Regions from separate parts of the Homo sapiens genome. Here region 2 is linked to region 1. The links are contacts of gene promoters, found by promoter capture Hi-C in blood cells and fetal thymus (Javierre and others, 2016). All regions are on one chromosome and are shown on one strand. The core of a region is centred on a gene start or on the middle of the fragment in contact, and the rest is flanking DNA. Distances in the headings are between cores, read along the strand shown. Region 1 holds the start of TTC7B (tetratricopeptide repeat domain 7B). Region 2 overlaps CCDC88C (coiled-coil domain containing 88C).

Region 1 (7,092 bases), core at 3,068-5,567:
TGAATCCTCACACGTGCCCTGAGAGTGGGCATTCTGAGCTGGCTGAGCAGGGAGGAAAGGCAGGCTCCGAGAGGCTAAGAACCTGGCTGGAGATCACCTAGCCACTACAGGTAAGGTCCAAATTTTAGACCCGGTGCCAGGTCACTGCACTTTCACACACAGTGGTGACCTCATCATTGGGAGGCTGGAGGGTGACATTCTGTAGAGAGAGGACAGCTGGGCCTGTCCTCCCAGAGACCAGGACCGACCTGTGAGCCCACATGAAGCTGATGTGCAGCTCTGTCTTTATCCCTGAGCGCTCAGGCTGCTGCCTCAGCTCCAAGCCAGGGCACCTCAGGCTTCTCTGAGTCCCCCAAACCCCTGGACACCTTGCTGAGATGTGGATTCTAACCCTGCACGTCTGAAGCCGGCCCAAGAATCCGCATTTCTCACAGGTTCCCGGTGGTGCCCCTGCCACTCATCCCCAGGCCACACTTCAGCCCACGAGGGCCTAGGCTTCCGGGGGACTGTCTCCCACCCCCACCCTTAACTTAGGTGACCATTCTCTCAGTGGGACTCACCCGGGTCTGGTGCACAGCTAGGTTCCACCACATTTGGGTTTTTTGAGATGGTGCAATGAAAATGGTGACTACGGTAGGGTACGAGGAAGAAGACAGACCTCTGGGTTCACTTTTCAACTTGGCATTTGTCCTTTTCTTCCTTATCCACCTCTTGGCAAAACATCTAAACCAATTCATCTCAAAGGAGCCAGGCTGGGGCAGTACACTCTGAAAGTGTCCACTATTTAGAGTCCTTAACGGGGAGGGGCTGCCACGCTTCCTTCCCGTAAGGAGCTAATGCTGCTGGGTGGGGAAGCCCACTACAAGTGGGAGCTTTGGGAAGGAGGGATTCCTCTGCTCAGAACTCTCCCATAGCCCTGTCTCACTCACAGGAAAGCCAAAGCCTTACCCTCGGCCTATCAGGCCCCGCCACTTTCTACCCATGAAGTTCCCTCCCTAGAACATGCTTCTCCACCTCCTTAGGTCTCATCTCAGATGTTGCCTTCTTGGGGACACCTTTCAGGGCCACCCTATTTAAACTAGTAGTTCCTGCAACCCCCACTCCCAGCCCACTCCAAAGCACCTATTCACCTTCCCCTTTTTCTCTTTGATAGCACTGACCACCATCTGACACCCTGTAAACTTTACCTAATGATTATATTGATTATCTGTCTCCCTGCCCCTTTCCTACTGGGATGTGAGTTTCATAAGGGCTGAGATTTTTGCCATTTTTGTCTGTTTTGTTTACCAGTGTATTTCCAGTGCCTAAAACAGTGGCTAGCACAGAGCAGGTACTCAATCTTTGTGGAAGGAAGGAAGGAATGAGTGGCTGGCCCTGAGAGACATTAGCTACTTTAACCCTCATAACAACCCCTGCAAGGTAAGTCATTTAAATCCCGTTCTAAAATGAGAAAACTGAGGCTCAGAGTGGTTAAGTGATTTGGCCAATGTCACAAAGTCAAGAAGTGGCCAAGGTCACAAGAATCAGTCCCCCATCTGGCTGGCTCCAAACACTGTATTCTTTTTTTTTTTTTTTCGCCTGTGGTTGTTTTCATGGTAACTGTCTTAGTGTGACAAACGTGACATTCACTTGCTTTCCTTATTCTAAGCAGAAGATGCTTTAACTTCAGGATTTTGCAAAATCTGCCCAGAACTTGTGCTCATGCACCCGAGAATCTATGGGGGAGCCGGTGCCCCCAAAAGCCAGGAAGAAGTCCCTCTACCAGCCCGAGAGTGGGAAGGCCTCACCAGTCAAACGGAGGGAAGGCCCCTCTTGCAAACACCAAAGGAGAGCCACAATCATTCTAGTTTAGTTTCATCTTTTTCTTGGCTTCATCGTTTTATTTTCCTGAGCACTCACTCTGTCTGATCTTTTCAAGTCCGGGTAACTTTTTGCCATCAATGGCTACCACTCACCATGTGAGTCTCTAGGACAAAAATCTATGTCCCATGAGTTTCCCCAAACTGAACTTGCACACAGACCCATGGACCACAGTGCCCCCGCAAACCCCGATCCCCAAGCCCCACTCATGACTGCATCTTAGGACATTGGGAGCAGCCCCTGGGAAGAGAGCTAAGCCTTTCGGGGGCCATGAAGGTGAATAGGAAGGGCCCAGGCCACCAAAAACCCATCTACCCTCTCATTCCAGGGACCATCATAGCTTGAGTCCCCCTTCATCTGCCTGTCATTCTCAATCACATTAACTCATCTGTTTTGTTTCAATCACTTCTCACTATCTGAAGCTGTGCTGTTTATTTATTTCCATATTTGCTTATCACCTGCCTCCTGAGAGCAGGGTGAGGGCATAAGGGCAGGGGCTTGGTCAGTGCTGTTCACCACTGTTCTGTGACTGGCACAGGTGGGCACGCAAATATTGGGTGAATGAATAAGCAAAGACAGCAGGAAACAAGTGGATTCAGAAGAAAAAAGACCAGGAGGCTCACAAATAAACCCATTTAATCCTAAAATCAACCTGCACAGAAGGTGTCATTATGCCTACACCGCTGGGAAGCCACAAAGTAGACCCAGGACTGTGCAACTCCGAGAGGAAAAGAGAAAATGCTGCAGGTAAGCGGAGAAGCAGGTGAGCCCGACACGGAGGGCAAAGGCAAGCTGCCTCTGGGGCCCAGGGCACTGAACACCATCTCCTCAAAGGCTGACATAACTGAGAAGGGTCCACATTTTCCACCAAGTGGAGCCCGTGTAGGGTCGGTGCTATCTCCATGCCCCTGACACACCATGGCACCTGCGTTCACCCAGAAGGTACCTGCCCACAGCATGCATCCATCATTGAGAGTGCGCAAAACCAAGTTCTAATTTCCAGGCACTAATACCATAGGACACAAACATAAACCACCCTCCAGGAGGACACCTGACATCCCTCTCCTTTCTGGGTAGTCTGAAGTGAGAAGGTTGAAAATAGTGCAGATGTCCTTTCTTAGAGCAGCCCCGCCATCCATTCATTCACTCTTTCATTCATTTGTTCAGCCAACATGTGCTCACTGGGCCTGGGGAAGCCCAGGATGAAATGAGACAAACCCTCTGCCCTCTGGCCACGGTGTGCTGGTGCCTGCGCTTTAGGCGGGTACTAAAAGACAAGCAAATATTAAAGATACTCGCTTCCAAAACAAATAAGGCCACGTGGAGCTGTGCACTGGAATGGGATTCTGGATGCAATTTTATTTGATTGGGTACAAGAACCAATCCAGTTAAAGGGGTCATGAACCAACTCCAGGCACCAGGCTCCTACTCAGAGGCTGCCTCAGACCCCCTTCTGGCCCAGGCACCAACCCCTCACCCACCCAACTCCATCTCCCGACATTCTTCAACCACATTCCCATCTCGCTCCACAATATTCTCCCTCCAGGTCCCCCTGACTCTATTTCTCCTCTATTCCCAACCCTGACCTCTCTAGGTCGGCAGCCTTGATGCTACTTCTCCGAACGCCAGGACGCACATCCCAGCCTGCTTTCTACCACCACCCCACACACCTCGAGTCTGCGCTTCCACCCAGAACCCCTTAAACACCATATGTTTACAAACCAGATTCCCCAGGGGTCTATGTACAACACCCCATTCTCAAGACCCCATAAACACATCCTGATTCCCTGAGCACACCATACACACACTGTGGACTTCACCCATGTCCTGAGGGACCCCCTCACCCCATCACCTCCAACTTCTTGGAAGCCCCAGGCCGGCCCCTGACCTCCTGTGGTCCCAGTGGAGCAGCGGACTCGCTGAGACCCCCGGACACCCCAGACTCCGCAGAAGCCCGCCCTGCACGCTTGAACCCCAGGCGCCGGGACAGCCCCTGGCGCCCCCCCGGGCCCCCACACCGCGTGACTCCGGGGCACCCGGGCTCCCCCAGGCCCCGGTCCCGCGCACATCCCCTGGGCCGCAGCTCCCTCGCGGCCCGGCCGCGCCCCTGCCCGCGCCCCGCGCCCGGCCGCGCCTCGGGGGCCCGTTCCCGCGGAGGCCGCGGCGCCCCCCGCAGCCCAGGCCGGCGCGCCCGGAGCGTACCGTTGGCGATGAGCTTGGCCGACAGCTGCTTGACGAGCTCAGGGATCCGCTCCCACTGGCACTCGGAGCGGCAGCGCTCGATCTCCGTCTCCAGCCGCGAGCCTGCCTTCTTGGTCGCCATCGCGGCCTGGCCGGGCCCGGCCGCCCGCCCCGCAGGCCCCACCGCCGCCGCCGCGGCGCCCCCTCGCCGCCTCCCGCCGCCGCCGCGGGCTCGGGCTCCGGCTCCCGGCTCCGCGGCGTAACGGGAGCGCCGGCTGGGGAAGGGGCGGGGAGGCGGGCGGCGGCGGCGGGCGCGGCGGGGCCCCGGGCGCCGCGAGGAGCGGCCCCTGCCGGCCAGGGCCGGAGCCGCAGCACTGACCGGGGCCGGAGCCAGGGCTGGGGCAGGGGCGGGGGCTAGGGCGGGAGACAGGGGCCCGAGGGAGGAAAGGCGGGGTGGGCATGGAGGACAGGGAGAGGGACTGGGGGTGTCTGGGGCGGGGTGAAGACCGAGGGGAAGTGGGGATGGGGGTGGGGGAGCGGGGTAGGAGAGAGATCTGACCAAGGGCGGGTGAGGGGTCTGGTGGGGTAGGGGTCTGGGCAGGATGAAGGGGAGGGAGAGGATCGGGAGGGAGCTAGCGACAGCCTGGGAGCGGGTTGGATCCCCAGGAGTAGGGCCAAGAAAGGGCAGTGACCCTGGGGAAGGTCACCGCCCGGTGGGACCAGTGAGCCAGGTGTGAGGGGTGGGGGGAGGCCTGCCCGAGTTTGTCCTGCCATCTCAGGTGGCCAGCGGTTCCCTGGGGCCCGGTTGGCCTGTGCCCCTTAGCAGATGCCCCTCTGCCCCGCAGCCTTAGCCCCTACCCAGCCAGAGGTGGACGGAGACTCCTCCATCCCAGGCAAGGCACAGCACCTGCCAGGGGTGCCCTAGATGGCTGAGCGGAGCCAGGCAGGGGCTGCCACTCTCACACGCCAGCTCTCGGACCCCCTGAGGGGAAGGCACAGTCACTGGTGGGGCCTCCTGTCTTGGCCACCTAGACTGAGACCTAGGGAGGTGTCCCTCTGTGTTCTCTCAGTGAATCAACTGTCTAGTGATCACCTACTATGTGCTGGGCGCTGCTTTAGGTGCCAGAGATAGAATTGTGAGCTAAAAAAACAAAATTCCTGGCTTGAGAGAGCTTACATTCCAGTTTGGGGGAAAAATAAGCAAAATAAAATAGTAAACTAGACTGTAAAAATGGCTATTTGAAGAAACAGGGAAGGGTTCAGTGAGGAACATAAAGAGTTGGGACAGGCGGGTGGCTCATGCCTGTAATCCCAGCTACTCAGGAGGCTGAGGCAGGATGATTGCTTGAGCCCAGAAGGTGGAGGCTGCAGTGAGCAGTGAACGCACTTCAGCCTGAGCAAGTGTTGCCATTTAAAATGGAGCAGTCAGGGATGGCCTCACGGAGGTGGCATTAGACTTGAAGAAACTAAGGGGGAGCCATGAGGATATCTCTGGGGGAGGAGTATCCCAGGCAGAGAACACCACAAGTGCGAAGGCTCTGGGGTTAGAGCACACTGGGTGGGATGGAGAAATGGCAGAGGCCAGAGGGGCTGGGTGGAGCGAAGGAGAGGGGCCGAGGCAGGAGATGAACTCTGAGAGGTTGGGGGGAGTTCTGTGTAGTGCCTGGTGGGCCATTATAAGACCTTGGCTTTTGGCTGGGCACGGTGGCTCACGCCTGTAATCCCAGCACTTTGGGAGGCCGAGGTGGGCGGATCACGAGGTCAGAAGATCGAGACCGTCCTAGCTAACATGGTGAAACCCGTCTCTACTAAAAATATTTTTAAAAATTAGCCGGGCGTGGTGGCAGGCGCCTGTAGTCCCAGCTGCTGGGGAGGCTGAGGCAGGAGAATGGTGTGAACCCGGGAGGCGGAGTTTGCAGTGAGCTGAGATGGCAGCACTGCACTCCAGCCTGGGCAACAGAGAGAGACTCCGTCTCAAAAAAAAAAAAAAAAACTTTGACTTTTACTCTGGTGACATGGAGCAGCCCTGCAGGGCTTTTCACGGAAGAGTGGCATGATCAGACCTACACTTTGGACTATCACTGTGACTGCAGTGTTGAGAATACTGCCAGGGAAATAGCTGTGGTGGTGGCAGTGTTGGATTCTGGGTCCTGCATTTGAGAGTGAAGCGGTCAGTCTGGAAGGTTCCGTAGCCCGCCCGCAGTCACAAGGAGGCACTGAGGGGTCGTCGTCATTCCTTCTGGGTGCCCTTACTCCAACTTTCCAAGAGCAGTCACACGCAGGTTCTTATCCCCACCACAACTCCCCCACCACCGGAGTTGATGAAGAACACACACTGTGGACCTCAGTTTACCAATGAGGAGGCTGAATCACAGACATTTAAGAGAGGTGAGGAGGAAAGATAAGGAGATGTGTTCTGATGTGACCAGTATCACTTTCAGGTGCCTCAGGGACTGCCAAGGTGATGGAAGTTGAGCTGACAGGCCCTGGACACTGTGAACAGCCCAGGGAAAGGGGAACTAGAACGTTAGAGTTTCAACAGGGGACCCTTTAGTGCCCTGGCCCTTAGCTCCCACCAAGAGGGAGCAGGAAGGGAAGGAGAAGAAATCTCCACAGGAGATGTTTCCTCTCTCCTGACACCCTCCTGTTCTCCCAACTCCAGTCTGCCTCTCCAGATTTGCTGGGAATGTTCTCCATCTGGACCAGGAGACAGATTCCTGTGCCTTCTTTCAGACACGGGCCAAAGGTTACTGGGCAGCCTTGCTCAACATCTGACAGACCTTGTGTGACAGCACTTGCCATCTCCCTCTGGGAAGGGGCAGGGTCTTAATCATGACTAACGCATACACTGCCTCAGTTGCCACACTGGAAGGTAAATGATGAGGGCCACCTGTCTGCCTCCCTACCTGATAAGGTGGCTTCATGAGGACGGATGCTGCCTGGGCCATGGCATTTAACATCCCCAGGCCTCCATTTCTTGGCTGTGATACCTCCCCCTGGAGCTCGTTGAGGAGGAAATGAGGAAATACAGGTAGGGCACAGAGAACAGTG
Region 2 (7,092 bases), core at 2,317-4,816, 470 kb after region 1:
CACGCTGGCTACTTTAAGCTTGAAATTGGGGGCAGGAGGAGGGGTCCGCTATCGGCCATCTGGCCTTTTAGACGCTGGCTTTTTTTGTTTGTTTGAATTTCGGAAATGAAGGAGGGTACACAATACAGACACATGATAAAGGAAAGGGATTAGAAATCTCCAATGTCGGAGAAAGAGAGAGGCTCGTTAGGAGAGGATGGGATGTCGGAGGAAGACCAGAACCGCAGGCGTTTAGAGAGAGCTGGGTGGGTCGTTGGAGACTTGTCTTTGTCCTTGTTTTTGCTTTTCAAAAAGGGACTCTTTTTGCGCGGAGGTGCTAAATTGTTATCAATCGGATAACCCAAAGGAGGAAGGAAAAAGAAAACACAAATAAATGAAATGAACAATAATGACAAATGAATCGAAATTAGCTAAATGTACTTAAGAAATCAGAATCCCGTCTTGCCCAGGAAAGATGAAAACAGTACACAGTACTCAAGAACAGAATCAGGGCTCAGTAATCATCTGTGCTCTGACTCAATTAATTTAAAGGCACCTGAACGCCAACAATTTATTTCCTCAGCGTGTGAGGAGAATTACATACTGCCCAAGGAGCCAATGGTCTGGATGATTTTTCGGTTTCAGTGTGCCAAATTATTAAACACTAATGCTTATTAATTTAGGGCCCAACTTCTCTTACTCATCCATTTTAATGATGGGGTCCCTAACAGCTCAGCTCACACAATCCTCCCGTTCCCACTCAAAGACCTTGGGAACATTCAATGATCCGTTTCAGGGCGCTGTAATCAAATACTCTACCTGAAGTATTCACTAATGATTCTGTATCTCTAAAATAATCTTTCGGCAGGATGAGTTTTAAAATAATTTAAATACCTCCTTTGCATACTAAAAAAAACCCTTCAACACCAAGAATCATGATTTCCTTTTAGATCTTCTATATACATCCTCCACTCCAATCCTCCACTCCTTAGCCTCTAGTGTCTTAACAAAGCAGACAATTGGGCTAACTTCCTAAACTGTCTTATAGTAACATTAATCGACCTAACCAATTTCTGATGTAGGATTAAAGTTGATACCAGGATTTCCATTATTTCTTCCTCCACAGCACCACCTGGTGGCCACAGTGGCTCACACCACAGAATAAGGGACCAACTTATTCAAGGCTGGTGTCCTTGTGGCCAGTTCAGGGCTAGGCTCTTGTTCGGCATCTTCAGGGACCCAGAGAGCTTTAACTGGAGGCAGTCCATGCAGTTAAGTGCATGCAGTTAAGAGCTCAGGCTCCGGAGTGCGGCCGACCTGCATTTGGGTCCCACTTACCCAAAGCAAATGTTTTACACTGCTGAGCCTCACTTTCTCACCTCTACACAGGGGAGGCCACGTCCACCTGCCTTGATAGGGTCGTTAGGATTCAATGAGATGCATAAAGCACATAAAGTAGTTAGAGGGTGCTGGGCCCAGAGGGAGCACCCAAGACATGGTGGCTGCTAGTGAACATGATCATGGTTTACAGACCTGCTTGCTCACGGATCACTTTGGACCAGTCAAGCATTTTTTTCTCTGAAAGTTTTCCTAACTCAGACTGATTATAGTTAATTAATTCCACTTAAAGAGTAATACAAGTTGAGATGACAAATGTCCAAAAATTAAACAGGAGCCAATATAAAAACCTGAGGCAACAGAACCCCTCTAGCTTAAAAAAAGTTAAGCTTCTCATTTACTTGCATGTGAGGCCTCTAATTTTTTTCCTTCTCACCCTGTCTTACGGTGCTGACTCTATCTAATCTTATCCCCATAAAGAATGACAGTGTGTTAGTCCCTGAACAATGTGCGTGAACATTATTTTTGTTAGAGATGGGGTGTCACTCTGTCACCCAGGCTGGAGTACAGTGGTATGACCATAGCTCGCTGCAGCCACGACCTCCTGGGCTCAAGTCGACTGAGCAGCTGAGACTACAGGTACGTGCCACCACACCTGGCTAAATAAAAATATATATATTGGTAGATGGGGGTTTCCCTGTGTTGCCCAGGCTAGTCCCAAACTCCTGGCCTCAAGTGATCCTCCTGTCTTGGCCCCTCAAAGTGCTGGGATTATAGGCATGAGCCACTGCACCAGGTCTTTTTTTTTTTTTTTTTTTTTTTTTGCATCTGAAGGGGACACAACAGGTACTTGTGAATGTGCCCCCTGAAAGGCTTGTGCACACACCACACTCAGAGGGTAGCCTGTCGCTGGTCTTCAGTGTTATATCCTCCGCCTCCAAGACCCCATGGGTCTCAGGCATAGGCTGGGTCTTCAGAAAGTCCTAGTGTCCTTTGTAAAAATTTAAATGACTTGGGATGCAGGCCTGGGATAAATAATCTCCCCAAAATGATATTTAAAGGTAAAGCTGAAAATTTAACAATGTGTAAGGTAAATGCTGTGTCTAATCGATTCTAAGACACCTTTAACGTCTTGGAAATTAGGAGGCAATTTCAGTGATGTCTCAGTCACCACTGGCCAGGTGGCCACGGTGACAAAACTGACATGGTCATAACCAACTCATCTTGGTCCTATTTTCCTTTTACGTGTGTGTACAAAAATCGAATTCTTATTTAGAAAAGCTCTTTCAACAAGAGCGTAAGAAAAATTCGAAGTGGTGGCCCTGTACCGTTTGATTGCCTCGTGGTATATAAAGTAACTGTGCAGCTTTCATGGCTCCTGAGAGTTGATGAAATACAGCATACATGATGAGAAATCCTGTTCTTGTTTCAGAACCTCTGGCAAACTCCAAAGGACAGCCCTTAGGGAAAAGGCACAGTGTGTCCTGTGGCTGGTGGGACACAAGGCCAGATCAGGCTGAAGAAGTCCTAACCCACCTTTCAAAGTGGTAACAGATAAACCACCCAAGGCTTTCGGGAGGTCTTATATACATGGAGAACGTGTTGAGTGCACCTGGGATCTCCCTGCACAAAGCAGCTTTCTACAAATCTGGCACATACGAGGCAGCCCAAAATAAGCTATGTCGCTTGTCTCTATGGTACCTGCACGAATGTCAGCTTTGGATATTGAGATATCTGCCCGGCTACATGATGAATGATACCTTTTGTTCTAAAACAACAAAAGTGGTTGGGCGTGGCAGCTCACGCCTGTAATCCAACAGTTTGGGAGGCTGAGGCGGGTGGATCACTTGACGTTAGGAGTTCGAGACCAGCCTGGCCAACATGGTGAAACCCCGTCTCTACTAAAAATACAAAAAATTAGCCAGGCGTGGTGGTGGGCGCCTATAATCCCAGCTACGTAGGAGGCTGAGGCAGGAGAATCACTTGAACCTGGGAGGCAGCCAGGCTGCACTCTAGCCTGGGCAACAAGAGTGAAACTCCATCTCAAAAAAATTAAAATAAAATATAAAATAAAGTAACAAAAGCATTATGGGACAAAACGGTCGCCACGCTGAATTTCTACTTGGCTCGTAACACATCTAAGCGAAGGCGCACATGCAGTCACCCACCCCTGGCACGTTCCTGCACACGTGTGCACAGCCACCGGTGCGGGACCCTTCAGGACACCCCCTTCCTCACCCGACCACGGCCAGGACGGCCGCCCCTACCTTTCCCCACAGACCCGTTGTGGGCGTCGCGCTCTTCTGCACAGTTGGAGCCCAGTGCGGGGGTGTCGGGGTTCTCGGCCTGTGATCTGAGCGGCTGAGAGGCCGCCGGCGAGGCGGGGTCTGAGGACTCCAGCTGCCAGGGAGGGCTGTCCACGGTGGATTTTAAGCGTTCCCTCGAACCCTCTTTCTTTGGTTTGATGAGTTTGACTAAGGCTTTGGCTCCAATCCAGTGGTTCTTCCTGGTTAGAAGTAGATGTTTAGGACATAGCCAGCCCTCCCACACACCCCCAGTGGGTCCCTGGTTCCCTAACATGGGCTGGGATGTTCTTCCCCAGTCTGGGAAGCTAGGCCACTCACGTGGGGTTCAGGACAATGACGCTCATGACCATGGTAATCATATTTGGGGCTCAGGAGCTAGAACTTAATTCTCAGTTTGGCACAGGGCTGGGGATGGTAGAGCCATGTGCATTGTGACAGAAATCCACTCTAGTCTCCCAGGATGAAGGAAGTGATGCCGTGCTTAATTTAGTTGGCAATTTTTCTGTCAAAAAGCCATTTCCATGAATCTCATTTTCTGCTAAAGTTAATAATCAGTGAAATAAGCTGGCATTCCCTTGACTCCTCCCTGGCACTGAGTAATCTGGGTGAGGTGGAGAGGGCAGAGGAGAGCAGGCTGTTTGATTAAAAATCAGTGCATTTAAAGAGTAAGCAATAACATCACAGCGAGCTGGACACCGAGGGCATCCTGGTGTGACATGAAGAGAACCCTGCCTGTGCTCTCACCCCGTCTCTGAAACGAAACAGCATCTATTTATATTATCACTCCAGTTTCTCATCTTGGCTTCAATTTCTGTGTCAAACAGAAGATTCAGACTGAGGTTCTGGGCCAGGCATGGTGGCTCACGCCTGTAACCCCAGCACTTTGGGAGGCCGAGGTGGGTGGATCAACTTGAGGTCAGGAGTTCGAGACCAGCCTGGCCAACATGGTGAAACCCCATCTCTACTAAAAATACAAAAATTAGCTGGGCGTGGTGGCACATGCCTGTAATCCCAGCTACTCGGGAGGGTGAGGCAGGAGGATGGCTTCAACCTGGGAAGCGGAGGTTGCAGTGAGCTGAGACTGTGCCATTGCACTCCAACCTGGATGTCACAGCGAGACTCCGTCTCAAAACAAAACAAAACAAAACAAAACAATAAGCACACACACAAAAACCAAAAACAGACTGAGGTTCGGAAATTCTGTGGTTCTGGATTCCCAGAGAGACCTCAAGGGATTTGCAGTGATTTTGACTTCAAGGCTGGGCCAGGACAATCCGAAGGGACAATTCCTGGGGCTCAGGCCGTGGACAAGGGGCAGCACTGCTAGGGTGGGCCAGCCCCACTTGGGGAGAGCTGCTGCTCTCTGGGGAAGAGACATGTCCATGAAGCCACCCTGAGGTTCTGTGAATCCAGAAAAATCTGCATAAGGTCAAAAGGTTCCCACATTTGAAGACCATGGGGGCTGGGCCAAGTGTGCTGCCCAAGCATCCTCTCCAAAATAGGAACATGGGTGTCCAGGTCATGTTTAATCCTGAGACGAAAACCTGACAAGGCAGCCCCGCCATCCTGCTTGAGTGACTCCAGGACCACGGATGCTCTGCCCCCTTAAAAAAGGCTCATAGCTAAATGAAGCCTGTGTCTCATTGGGGTCACCAGACATTGGCCACCCCTCACAGGACAAGCTAGAGTACAGAGGCAGGCTGGAAGGATTCTGAACTCTCTCTGATGTGGGAGGCATCTGTGCACAGGTGGATGGTGCGGGGCCTGCCCTAGATGGCTGCTTTCACCCTGTGCACAGAAAAGGAAGCTTTTAAGTTCTGTCTTTATGCCACTACACTTAAATCAACTCACTTCTTTGGAGGAGGATCATAGAACTTGTATTGATCCATGATTTTTTCTTCCAGCTTTTCCTTATGTCTTCGTAAGGCATTTAATTTGTCTCTGTGAATATAGGAGAAAGAAAACCTATCAATCCAGTTTTAAATCAAACAAGTGAATTTACTCATCGGCCCAGCCTGGAACCTGGTGTACCCGGGGCTGGTATTTTTCCAGGATTGAGATGAGGGTGCTCACCACCGTCATGGTCACTGAGTTTGGAATACGGGAATGGTGGCATGCGCCGTGGGTTCAGGGAGCTCTATGACCCTGAGATTTACTGAAGCCCCTGGGACCCAGCTGTGAGCGAGCTCAAGGCAGCAAACTTCTAACAATCTGAAAACTCACGCTCGGAAGACCCAAGGATTCTCCTTCCAGGTTGTTCAAGACGTGAGATGCTCCTGGGGTCAGGCAGAACCTACCCCGCAGTGGTGACGGGGCGGGGTTCAGGGGGTACATATTAACAACACCTGGGCAGTGAGGTTGAAAAAGTCAGCTCAGCAAAGTCAGATGCATGACTCAGGCCCATTCCCACTCAGAAGCAAACTGAGAAGCTTTCAGGGGCCAGAAAGAGAAGTTAATGAGCACAGCAGGGCTGGAGAAACCAGGGGCGCTAGTGGGGACTGCAGTGAGCCCCTGTGCTGCCATCTCCGGCAGACCCTGCTGCCACAGGGGAATGAACCAGGGCACAGTGGGGCGGACTTCCCGAGATACCAGATGCCCAGATGATGAAGCCAAATCTCCCGATTCCTAAATATTGGAAATTGAGCCACTTTTCAAAAACTCTGCCAGGGACCAAAGAGATATCTCTTGAATCTTGGGCGGGCTCAGGCACCTCTGCTTACCGGGGAGACCTTGGCCTTCCTCATACAAACAGAAAGCTTCTGTTTGCACTTAGGGAGTCACGGGGCTGCGCCCACAGTGCATTCGGAGCCGCGCTGCCCATGGTACTGAGGACTGCTGCCCACTCATGCCTCAGCGCTGGGTGGTCTTGAGAGCCCAGACCCTTGGTTTCCTCGTCTGAAAACGAGGCCTTACATGAGAGGTAACAGCTCATTCTCGAAGCTGCCAAGGTCCTGCCCCAACTGAGGGCTTTCCCAAGAGCTCACGGTGAGGTGAGCCCCTGTAACAAGTGACCCCAGCCACGCTCCGCTCCCAGTCCCTTGACTCGACATCCGTGTGCTGGTGTTCTGTGCTCACGGCCGTGCTGCTGAGCCTTAAGCCTTGAGTGCTTCATGGCTGGGGTTGGCCCCACAGACTCACACGAACTCCAGGGCCCGGAGCAGGCCCCAGGAAGCCTGCCAACCCACTGGCCTGGAGTAGACACTGTCTAATGCAAAAACGTCATCAAATAATCCCCCTGAGTGCTCCTATACTTCTTCCAGTTAGCACCTGCCCAACCTCTGCTGGCGATATTTTATCACCGGGATTATAGAGGGCCAACTTCAGGGTCATTTCCACCCCACAATTACAGTGTGCTTTTACATACAAACCATCCTCCCGAAGGTGGCACGCCAGCCCTAGACACGTAGGTGAAGCCGACAGAATAACAAAGGAGCATCGTTACATCAGAGAGTTGGGATAGCACACCAGT

The links. The method cuts DNA at HindIII sites, captures the fragments that hold promoters and counts their contacts. A CHiCAGO score of 5 or more calls a contact.
Region 2: a contact is called between a fragment that was not itself captured here and the fragment with the promoter of TTC7B in region 1, in 1 of 17 cell types (megakaryocytes). The highest score is 5.3, in megakaryocytes.

The regions. Positions count from the first base shown.
Region 1 is chr14:90,812,113-90,819,204 of GRCh38, forward strand. It overlaps TTC7B (tetratricopeptide repeat domain 7B), which reads right to left and starts at 4,318. Exons shown (of 20, transcript NM_001010854.2): 1 at 4,063-4,318. The coding sequence starts at 4,183. RefSeq lists a silencer at 4,312-4,491. The HindIII fragment of the contact is 10,969 bases long and covers 1-7,092 here.
Region 2 is chr14:91,285,521-91,292,612 of GRCh38, forward strand. It overlaps CCDC88C (coiled-coil domain containing 88C), which reads right to left. Exons shown (of 30, transcript NM_001080414.4): 24 at 5,475-5,564; 25 at 3,585-3,823. Among named protein-coding and RNA genes, the nearest start is that of GPR68, 44 kb to the left of the region's middle. The HindIII fragment of the contact is 3,724 bases long and covers 1,705-5,428 here.